Regions from separate parts of the Homo sapiens genome. Here region 2 is linked to region 1. The links are contacts of gene promoters, found by promoter capture Hi-C in blood cells and fetal thymus (Javierre and others, 2016). All regions are on one chromosome and are shown on one strand. The core of a region is centred on a gene start or on the middle of the fragment in contact, and the rest is flanking DNA. Distances in the headings are between cores, read along the strand shown.

Region 1 (4,535 bases), core at 123-2,622:
CATACATTTATTGTTTAATATTATATGGTAAGTACTTTAAAATGGTAAATAGTAAATACTTGTGTTATTCACTAACATTTGGGGAGGATTTTCTCTGTGCTTTATGTATATTACCTAACCTTACAAACTGTGTAAGGTACATGCTGTTCTCTCAATTTTTCAGATAAGAAAATTGAAGCCCAGAGAGATCAAGTGACTGATCCAAAGTCCCACAGTGAGGGGAACTGAAGATAGGATATTCTTTCTCCTTTTCCTCTTTAAAAAATTATTTTGATTAAAAAAAACCGTATTACTGAAGCATAGGGACATGGGGAGAAATTATGAATGATTCCTCAGCCTGAATAAAATAGTATGTTTCATTAAGGCAACAAATATTTATTAAGGACCTAATATTTGCCTGACATTCAAGTGAGGTGGGGGGCACACAAGTAGTAAATAAATAACAGACTGGGCAAAGGGCTACCAAGGCAATACTGTAGTAGACTAACAGGTGCCCCACCATAGATGGGTGGTCCGGAAAAGGCGTCTCAGATGTCTTTCGTTGAGACGCAAAAAAAAGCTGTGGGGTAGGGCGTAAGGGGAGGGTGGAGAAGAGAGAGAGGGTTCCTGGCCAAGGGAACCAAAAGCAGAGAAGCTCCAAGTCAGAAAAAAGCAGCGGTTGGCCCGTTGGGAGAATTGGAAGCCAACCAGTATAGCTGTAGCACAGGCGGGGCCCATTTACGCCGTGCGTTTTCACCCTGGAAAGGAGTTTGGGTTTTCAAGTGTGACGAGGCGCTATTAAAGAGTTTTAAACATGGAAATTACTCGATCTGATGTTTGTGTAGTGTCCTGTTTGTTAGTCATCTTTTCCAAACTATAATACATTTTTTTTTTCCTAAAAATGGTCGTTAAAGCAGCCTAGGACTTAGGTCAATTGCGGTGGTCACTTGACCGCCTGTGAGGAGGCGGCGCGTGGGGTGGATCGGACTGGGCGTGGCGGGGGCTCAGGAAGGAGGGTGGCCCTACCCCAGCGGGCTCGGCTCGGGGCCTCCGCGGCAGTTCGGGGTCCTTCACCCGCCGGCTCCAGGTAGGCTACTCCTCAGGTAAGCCCCGCCGCCAGCCGCGACGTCGTCGCAGACAGGCACCGCCCCCACTCGTGCGGCGCGAGTAGTCCTGCCCCTCCGCGTTGTCTCCGGCCGGCACGGCCCGGCGGGGTACGGCCGAGCCCGCCGCATGTGGCCCGGCTCCCGGACACCTCCCCGGCGTCCTCCGCGCCGGCCGCTCCTGCCCCGACGTCGCTCCGGCACGGCTCGGGGCCCAGAGGCGAGGCGAGGACGCCGGGCAAGCCAGGCAGCGGAACTGACGCCGGCGAGCTTCCGGGGCGGCCCCGGGCAGGTCGGCGGCGGCGGCCCGCAGTCGTGGAGGAGCGGTGGGAGCGTCGGCGGCCGCGGGCGATGCAACTTCCGGACGGGACTCCCCTCTGTCCGCGCCTCACATCTCCCCTTCCTCTCGCCTAGTCCTGTGCCGTTTTCCGTCCGCGACTCTTCCGGCCCAGAGCTTTCGGAGTGCGGTTGCTCAGGGGAAGCCGTCGCCGCCCCCGCCTCGGGGCCGAGTGAGAGTGCCCGTCGCGTCGCGCCGCGTCGCCCCCCGGGCCGCCTCCTTGCCGCCAGTGGCGGGCTCCGTTCTCCCTCGAAGCACTCCCCCCAGCTCCATGAATGGAAATCGGCTCCGCAGGTGAGTCAGAGTAGCTGGGCCAGGTAGGGGATGTCACCCAGCTACTGTCCTCTGAGCATCCCTGCTCCTCCCGCCCGGCCCAGGTGCGCGAGGTGAGCGTCGGGCGGGCATCGCTCGGTCTCCCGCCCCTCGCCCTGCTCCTCCGCGACCTCCCCGCAGCCCAGCCCCAGTTCCCCGGGGGCCCCTGAGTCGGCGAAACTGCGAGGCGGGGAAACGCTTGGAGGATTTAAGTTTGGGGTTATCTAGGCGGCATTACTCTTTGCTGGAGTACCCTTCTTCTAGACTTTAGAATGGTTTGCCATTGTCTAGTTGGAGTGCGTGTCCTTTAGCCAGGTTGTGTGTTCCGTAGAGGCTGGGCAGCCAGCCAGCTCCCTTACCTACCTCTTAGGATAGTTGTGAAGATAGGCTGAGATAACGGATAACTTCAGATTAAGTTCGAAGGAGGTGTTGGTGCAACGTTAAATTCAACATGGCATTGCTCCTACCCTCGAGTTCTTTTCTGTTGTTTGTGGCAGCATGGTAGATAGTTTCTGAGGAGCTTGGAAATGTCATAGCAGCCTGGATCCCTGCTTATACGAGGAGGTGGTTCTTAAAATTGCTGACAGTATATTTTTTTTCATTCTCTATTCCTTAGAGAAGTAGTTGTCATATTCCTGGAAATTTGGAATTTAAGAAAACTGCTTTATCTCTGGGGGCAAGAGCAGCAGTTTTGCAGTCTTAAGAGAAAATTGCAACATGGATAGTACTTGTCCTTAAAAAAGGAAAAGTATTGTTTATGGTTCTAAAGTAATTAATTCAGGGACAGAAAGGTGTTGCATAACGGTTTGCCTAACAAATGATCATGCTTGGCTTATTAAATTTGAAAGTATGCTTCAGACGATCACAAGTTCGTAAATTAATTTTCAAAATATTTGCGGGGCTGTCTTGTTACTAATGGTGTTACAAGTTCCTGAATTCCATATCTCTTTTTGCCAATTTGATATAAGAAAAACTTACGTAAAAGAAACCAGTGACATAACGATAGCTAAGAACTTTGTTGAATAGATTACGTGTCAAATGGTTGCAAAAAAGCACTCAAACTGGGGAGATGAGATGGGGAGAGAGTTACAAATTTTTTTTTTTTTTTTTTACAAATTTTGTTACATGGAAGTTTCTCTAATCAATTTAGACCATATCTCTTTTTCCTGCTCCATTGTTTCGCTTTCCCCCATATCGTCTTAAAAGGTCTGTCTGGATTGTGAAAAGATTTCGACTCTTATTCAGTTTTGATTTGTGTATTTCTGAAACTGTCCTGCCCTTTTAAAAAAATTACCATACTACTGTTTTACTGTACAGGAGATGTGATTATTTGGGACCATAGGTGATCTTTGTACATAACTGTCCTGTTGTCAAGTCTGGAAAACAAGTCATGAAGGTCAGACCCTTTATTAATCATCCCAAAACTTTTAAAGATATTTCAAAAAAGTTTTTAAAGTTTTTTCTTTTTCTCCTTAGGGTTTTTCATATGATATTGTGCCCATATATATGGGAAATGTCTTAGAAAACATTTGTTACATCAAACCACCTAGTCAACTGGTACAACTAAGCCAAGTACAGCTCAGAAAATACATTTTACCTCTTCTTTTTTGGGTGTCCCATTGCTGAAATGGATACCCATTTAGCTGTCTTCACATTTGGGGAAGTGTGTAGTTAGATTATCAACTATATGCCTGGGTCTCTTGAAAAGTAAAGTTTTTTCTTCAGTACAGTTTATACATGATTGAATGTAGCCTAATAATGAAGATAAGCTATACTTTGGCTCAAGATTGTCATCAGAAACAAAATTTTCATTATTCCTGAGACTTGTATATAATTGGTATGCTTAGCTTTAAGTTGAAAGCATAGCTGTGCAACTAAATTTTAAATCCATAATTTAGGCTGGGTGTGGTGGTTCATGCCTGTAATCTCAGCACTTTGGGAGGCTGAGGAAGGATGATCGCTTGAGCCCAGCAGTTGGAGACCAGCCTAGGTAACATAGTGAGACCTGCCTCTACAAAAAACAGAAAACTTAGCCGAGAATTGTGGCACATGTCTCCAGTCCTAGCTACTTGGGAGGCTGAGGCAGGAGAATGGATTGAGCCCAGAAGGCAGAGATTGCAGTGAGCTATGATCGCGCCACTAACTCCAGCCTGGGTGACGGAGCAAGACCCTGTCTCAAAAAAAAAAAAAAAAAAAAAAAAAAAAAAAATCATCATTTGACACGTATTTTGATTTTAAAATTTTAGTATAAATGTTCTCAAAAAGTCTATTGACTCAGTATTGAATCTTGGCTTTCCAATTCTGCCATAAGTTTTTCTTTTTTGTGGAGATTCTCAGGAATCATCTTGTGATAGGATATTTTAAATTCTAGTTGCTCGGTGGATACACAGAAAACTGTTAAATTTGTTTACATTAGGGAACCTCGAACACAAATACCATATAAGTTAGTATTTGTTCTTTCATATGAAATATTTTAAATGCTTTTTAAGGATATCTTGTGCAATCTACTGATTTAGTACCATCAGAACTTTGATTTAACAAAAAAAAAGGTGAAATTAGTTAAAAATTAATCAACAGTTTAACATCTGTGTCTGTGACTCTTTAGTTGGGGAACATCTGATGAAACACCGTTTTTTATGGTCTAATTACTGCTGAACTAAGAGTATAGGTTATGTTTCAGTTCTAAATAAAGTGGGAATAGGGAGCTGCAGAAATGCTTGATGATGTTACTTCTCCTGAGTACTCATTTTTTAGGTCCATACTATTCTAGTCTATGTTTTCAGGTAATGTTAGACTACCGTTTA
Region 2 (5,144 bases), core at 1,538-4,037, 350 kb after region 1:
TATTCTCATTGTAAATTGTTTGTTTATACCTCCACCTCCCACTCCTGAATAACTTACTCCTTTATTCTGACTTCATATAGTGACACTACTGCCAAAAATAGCTCCAAATTGAAATATCTTTGACCTTGCTAGAGCTTGCAACAGTGTGATCTTTTTGGCAGGATTAAAACCGTGGGTTCTTGGCATCCTCATCTAGCAGTCTTTTACTCATCACCTTTTGTCTCTGACTTCTTATTAGTTTCTCAGTTCTCCTCTAAATTATGTCTCTAAGATTTTGCTTGTTTCCCCTGTGAGATGGAGCTATAGCAGCTTCCTAGGCGTTTTTTGTCTTTTGGAAAGTTCTTGAAATTCAAGTATTTTATTTGAATATAACAAAAATAAATACTACCTTTCAGTTTATCTATATCTTGTCACCTTTATCAGATTGTAAACTTGGTAAGGGTGGACACTTGGCATTCATTGGTTCCATAAGTTCGTTAGTACCCCTTGTATGCCAGACACTGCTCTAGACAGGCAATATAACATAGTGGTTAAATGTGCCAACGGTGAGGCTGGGCGGGGTGGCTCACGCATGTAATCCTAGCACTTTGGGAGGCCAGGGCAGGAGGATCCATTGATCTTAGAAGTTTGAGACCAGCCTGGGCAACACAGGGAGACCCCATCTGAATGAATTAATGAATGAGCAAGTCGATCGTGGTTTGGATTTTGGCAGTATGACCTTGGGCAAGTTAATTACTTTCTCTATGCCTCAAAATTCTTATCTGTAAAACGGGATTAAAAATGCCCTCCTCAAGGATAAAATGAATTAATAAAAACACTGGTTAAGCATTTGCTATTCTGGGCGTTGGGTATACAGCACTAAATAAAGAAAGATGAGGTTTCTGTTGTTATAGAGCTTACATTCTAATTAAAGACAGAATAACAAGTAAACAAGATAGTTTCACATACTGAGTTTTGCTCTGAAGAAACAAATAAGATACATACTGGACCTAGAGAATGACTGGTGGCTATTTTTGACTGGGTGGTCAGGGTGAACCTCTGAGGAGATAGCTTTTGAGCTGAGATCTTCAAATTCTGAGGGGTAGGAGGGGAGAAATATTTGATTATTATTTTCCCTTCACAGACAAGAGGCAGCATTACTTGGCAGAATCTCGCTAGGCAGCAAAGTGTGATAGAATAGGCCCTGGAGTTTGGGCCTGGTTTGGCTATTAATTAGCTTTGTGATCTTTGATAGATTCCTTACTCTTACTGTCTTTGATAGACATGTACTTTAGCACTTAAAGTTTTTACTGCTGGGAAGATGTCCAAGGCGCTAATAGAGTATAAAGGAGAGAAGTATACCTTGTAGACCAGGCGTTAACCTCTCAGGGCAACTTAGAGGCGCTCTTCTTTCCTGGAGGGGGAAAAAAGGAAAAAGACTATTTGTTTCTTGGTGGGAAAATGACCCTGAAAGAAAGTTGACTCTTTATTTTTATTTATTTTTTTTTTTGAGACGGAGTTTTGCTCTTGTCGTCCAGGCTGGAGTGCAATGGCGCGATCTTGGCTCGCTGTAACCTCTGCCTCCTGGGTTCGAGAGATTCTCCTGTCTCAGCTTCCTGAGTAGCTGGGATTACAGGCACCCGCCACTACTTTTAGTAGAGATGGGGTTTCACCATGTTGGCCACGCTGGTCTTGAACTCCTGATCTCAGGTGATCAGCCCACCTCAGCCTCCCAAAGTGCTGGGATTACAGGCGTGAGCCACCGCCCCCAGCTGACTCTTTTGTAATAAAGAGCTGGAACAAATTGATGGTTCTTTATGACTAGATGTGCCACATACTCTGTAACTAAGTTAAATTGCATGCGGTTTCTTCTCTTGGAACTAGGAAACCTGTCTCACATCTCCTCATTACTTTTATTAACAGCTGACTTTAGTCTCAAAGCTTCTTTGCTTACTGAGAAAAGACTGCATGCACCAAAATTAATAAGCACCCTCATTCTTGGTCATCTCTTACAGTATTACCCAGTTAGGGTTACATGTCAGGTTTTCCATTTGCTGCTGTGGCTTGGTCTGTTTGGGATTTGTACTACTAAGAAATTCCTTTTGATGAAAGAGCAGAGTGGTTTTTAAAAATCAGTCATTTCATCTTTTTTTTTTTTTTAATGTTACTTTCTGTTTTTAAAGTTTATTTTATTTAAACAGTTGTTTTTTTTGTAGAGGTGGGGGAATCTTCCTATGTTGCTTAGGCTGGTCTCAAAATCCTGGCCTCAGGCCATTCCCACCTTAGCCTCTGGAGTAGCTAGGACTACAGGCCCTTACCACTACATCCAGCTAATTTTAAAAGTTTTTACTTTGTAGGCCAGGCACGGTGGCTCACGCCTGTAATCCCAGCACTTTGGGAGGCCGAGCCGGGCAGATTACCTGAGGTCGGGAGTTCGAGACCAGCCTTACCAACAAGGAGAAACCCTGTCTCTACTAAAAATACAAAAAAATTAGCCGGGCATGGTGGCCCATGCTTGTAATCCCAGCTACTTGGGAGGCTGAGGCAGGAGAATTGCTTGAACCCGGGAGGCGGAGGTTGTGGTGAGCTGAGATTAAGCCATTGCACTCTAGCCTGGGCAACAAAAGCAAAACTCCTATCTCAAGAAAAAAAAAATTTTTTTTTTAACTTTGTAGACACGGGATATTGCTATGTTGCCCAGGCTAGTCTTGAACACCTGGACTTAAGCAGTCCTCCTCCTACCTTGGCCTCCCAGTGCACTGGGATTACAGGCGTGAGCCACCGTGCTCAGCCACTTTCTCTCTTTTTTTTTTTTTTGGAGATAGGGTATTGCTCTTTCCTCCAGAGCTGCAGTGCAGAGGTGTGATCACAGCTCACTGTAACTTTGCACTCCCTCCTGTCTTAGCCTCTCAAATAGCTAGGACTACAGGAACGCACCACTGTGACTGGCTAATTAAAAAAAAATTTTTTTTTTTTTTTTGTAGATATGGGGTCTTCTCAAGTTGCCCAGATTAAAAGAAATGTGTTTCTAAAATGTCCAAAGAGGTTCACATTTGCAAAGGAACTCACTCATTTGTTCTAATGCATTTTCTTACATTAGGTGTAATTGAAAAGTGATCCTCTCTTCAGAGATGTCAAAAACAAACAAATCCAAGTCTGGATCTCGCTCTTCTCGCTCAAGATCTGCATCAAGATCTCGTTCTCGTTCATTTTCGAAGTCTCGGTCCCGAAGCCGATCTCTCTCTCGTTCAAGGAAGCGCAGGCTGAGGTAAGGGGGTGTGACTTTGTATATTGAGATAATCATTGCATCAGTCGATGTGGATGTTTGAAGATCTTTTGTTAGACTTTTCCTGTGAGTGTCAAATGGACTGGGGGGTTGGCTTGAGGTGCAGGGTTGGGCTATAAGATATTCCAGGTCTCTTTAAACTACAAATCCAGATCAGCTTTGACTGCCATGCTGATTGCCTGATTCCTTTCCTCTGCCAGCACATAGTATTTCCCACCCACTTTGGAAGAAAGAACATTTTATTTTTATTTGAGCTGCTTGCTTCAAATCTCTATAGCTGATTATTTTTCACCAAATTATTTTTGAAGGCTTGAACCAAAGTTTATGTGCATCACTGCAAAGAAAGGATAGCTAAGAGGATTAATAATATGAACAACATGGCAAGGAAAAGAAGCTTCAACTCACTAAAATAAACTTACAGAAACTTATCAGGAGTAATTTGTATACAATGTGCCAATTACTAACAAGCTGCATCTGTTTAGTAAATGTATCTTAAAACTTTTTAAAAATCGCTATTGAAAACATCACTTTATCTTACTGAATATGAGCACAGTTCTTTTGAATTTATTGCCAGTATTTCCTAATTCAGTCAGTTTTCACACCTTCAGGTGGATTTCCCTATTTTAATTATGTCTTGGAATAGGATGCCAAACCTCCAGCGTCTTTCCTCTCTTGGTGTGTTGTGAGTTGGATTTTTCATTCTTTAAAAGTGTTTAAACTTTCTTTTGTGGATAGATAAGAAGCTTTCAGTAAATAACAAGTTTCTATATGTGAGTTTGGGAAATATTGGTGTATTTAAATTGGTGTGCTGAAGAGGAATCTTTGTACATTTTCATTCTTTTTCCCACAAGTACATTAGCAAGGAGATGATTTGTCATGTTTGACACTTGGAACCCCTGCTGTTTATTTCAGATGAGTATCTAGAATCCTTGTCTTAGATGAATTGATTAGCTGTTTATTTCAGATGAGTATCTAGAATCCTTGTCTTAGATGAATTGATTACGACATTTAAAATAAACCTCAGAAGTCAGTGATTAAACTTTTACTCTTGATGATTTCCAGAGCCCTATAGTACTTCTAAGGGGTCTATTAAACAAAGGATTAGTAGTTTTGTTTTTTTACCATTTAACAAAAACAAGGTAGATATTAAATGGAGTCTATGAGAAGCCAGCCTGAAAAAGCAGGTATGCATAAATATTGAAAAGGGAAACCCTAAATTTATTTACCTCAGGAAATTGCTTTTAAAGCCATGGGACCAGCAAGACTCTTAGTAACTCCTACCCTGTACCCAGAATCTTGATTTAGGGAGTTTAAACCTCAGTTTTAGCTCATTTGGTTATGAAAGATACCTTTTTAAAATTTAATCTAGTAACTAGAAGAAACTAAATAATTGGTTCAACACCAAGAGGCTATGCAACCAAAACTGAGAGACAAAATTGAATTGAAAAATGTTAACCAACTCTGAAGTATTTATGACAGCTGGAATTCCGGGCAGTTCTTTTCTCCTTGTTCTGCAAATCATTTGGCACTTGCTCACTGACTTGGCAAATGAGGAAAAAATATTTTAGGAAGGCAGTATGTGCTGGGGTAGGTCTAGAGACACTTTACATGCTATCATATACCTAGAAGAGACTTTTCTGGAGGAATTTCTCCACTAGAAAGTATGCTTTTATAATTGATTGTAATCTGACTTCTCTGTTTTTAGAAACAGATAAATTTGCCACTGGATGTTCAGTTTTTATTTCTGGCTTATCTGTTTCATGGTTTTTTCTTTTGTTTTCCCTCTCCTGCAAGGAAAGTATCTATCCAGAGAGTTTGAGAAACCATGCCTTTAAATTAACTAACTGCTGAGTTCTACAGAATTGGAGAAAATTGATTA

Evidence for each region. Contacts are between HindIII fragments. The CHiCAGO score rates a contact against its expected background, and 5 or more counts as called.
Region 2: a fragment that was not itself captured here is called in contact with the fragment with the promoter of AGO3 in region 1 in 1 of 17 cell types (monocytes); the score reaches 5.0 in monocytes.

Annotation. Positions count from the first base shown.
Region 1 is chr1:35,929,733-35,934,267 of GRCh38, forward strand. AGO3 (argonaute RISC catalytic component 3) reads left to right here and starts at 1,373. Exons shown (of 19, transcript NM_024852.4): 1 at 1,373-1,713. The coding sequence starts at 1,695. It overlaps AGO1 (argonaute RISC component 1), which reads left to right. Exons shown (of 19, transcript NM_012199.5): 19 at 1-800. RefSeq lists enhancers at 989-1,512, 1,513-2,037, 2,038-2,560 and silencers at 1,016-1,525, 1,536-1,875. The HindIII fragment of the contact is 14,155 bases long and covers 1-4,535 here.
Region 2 is chr1:36,279,454-36,284,597 of GRCh38, forward strand. THRAP3 (thyroid hormone receptor associated protein 3) reads left to right here. Exons shown (of 12, transcript NM_005119.4): 3 at 3,080-3,247. The coding sequence starts at 3,111. Among named protein-coding and RNA genes, the nearest start is that of SH3D21, 24 kb to the right of the region's middle. The HindIII fragment of the contact is 1,739 bases long and covers 1,919-3,657 here.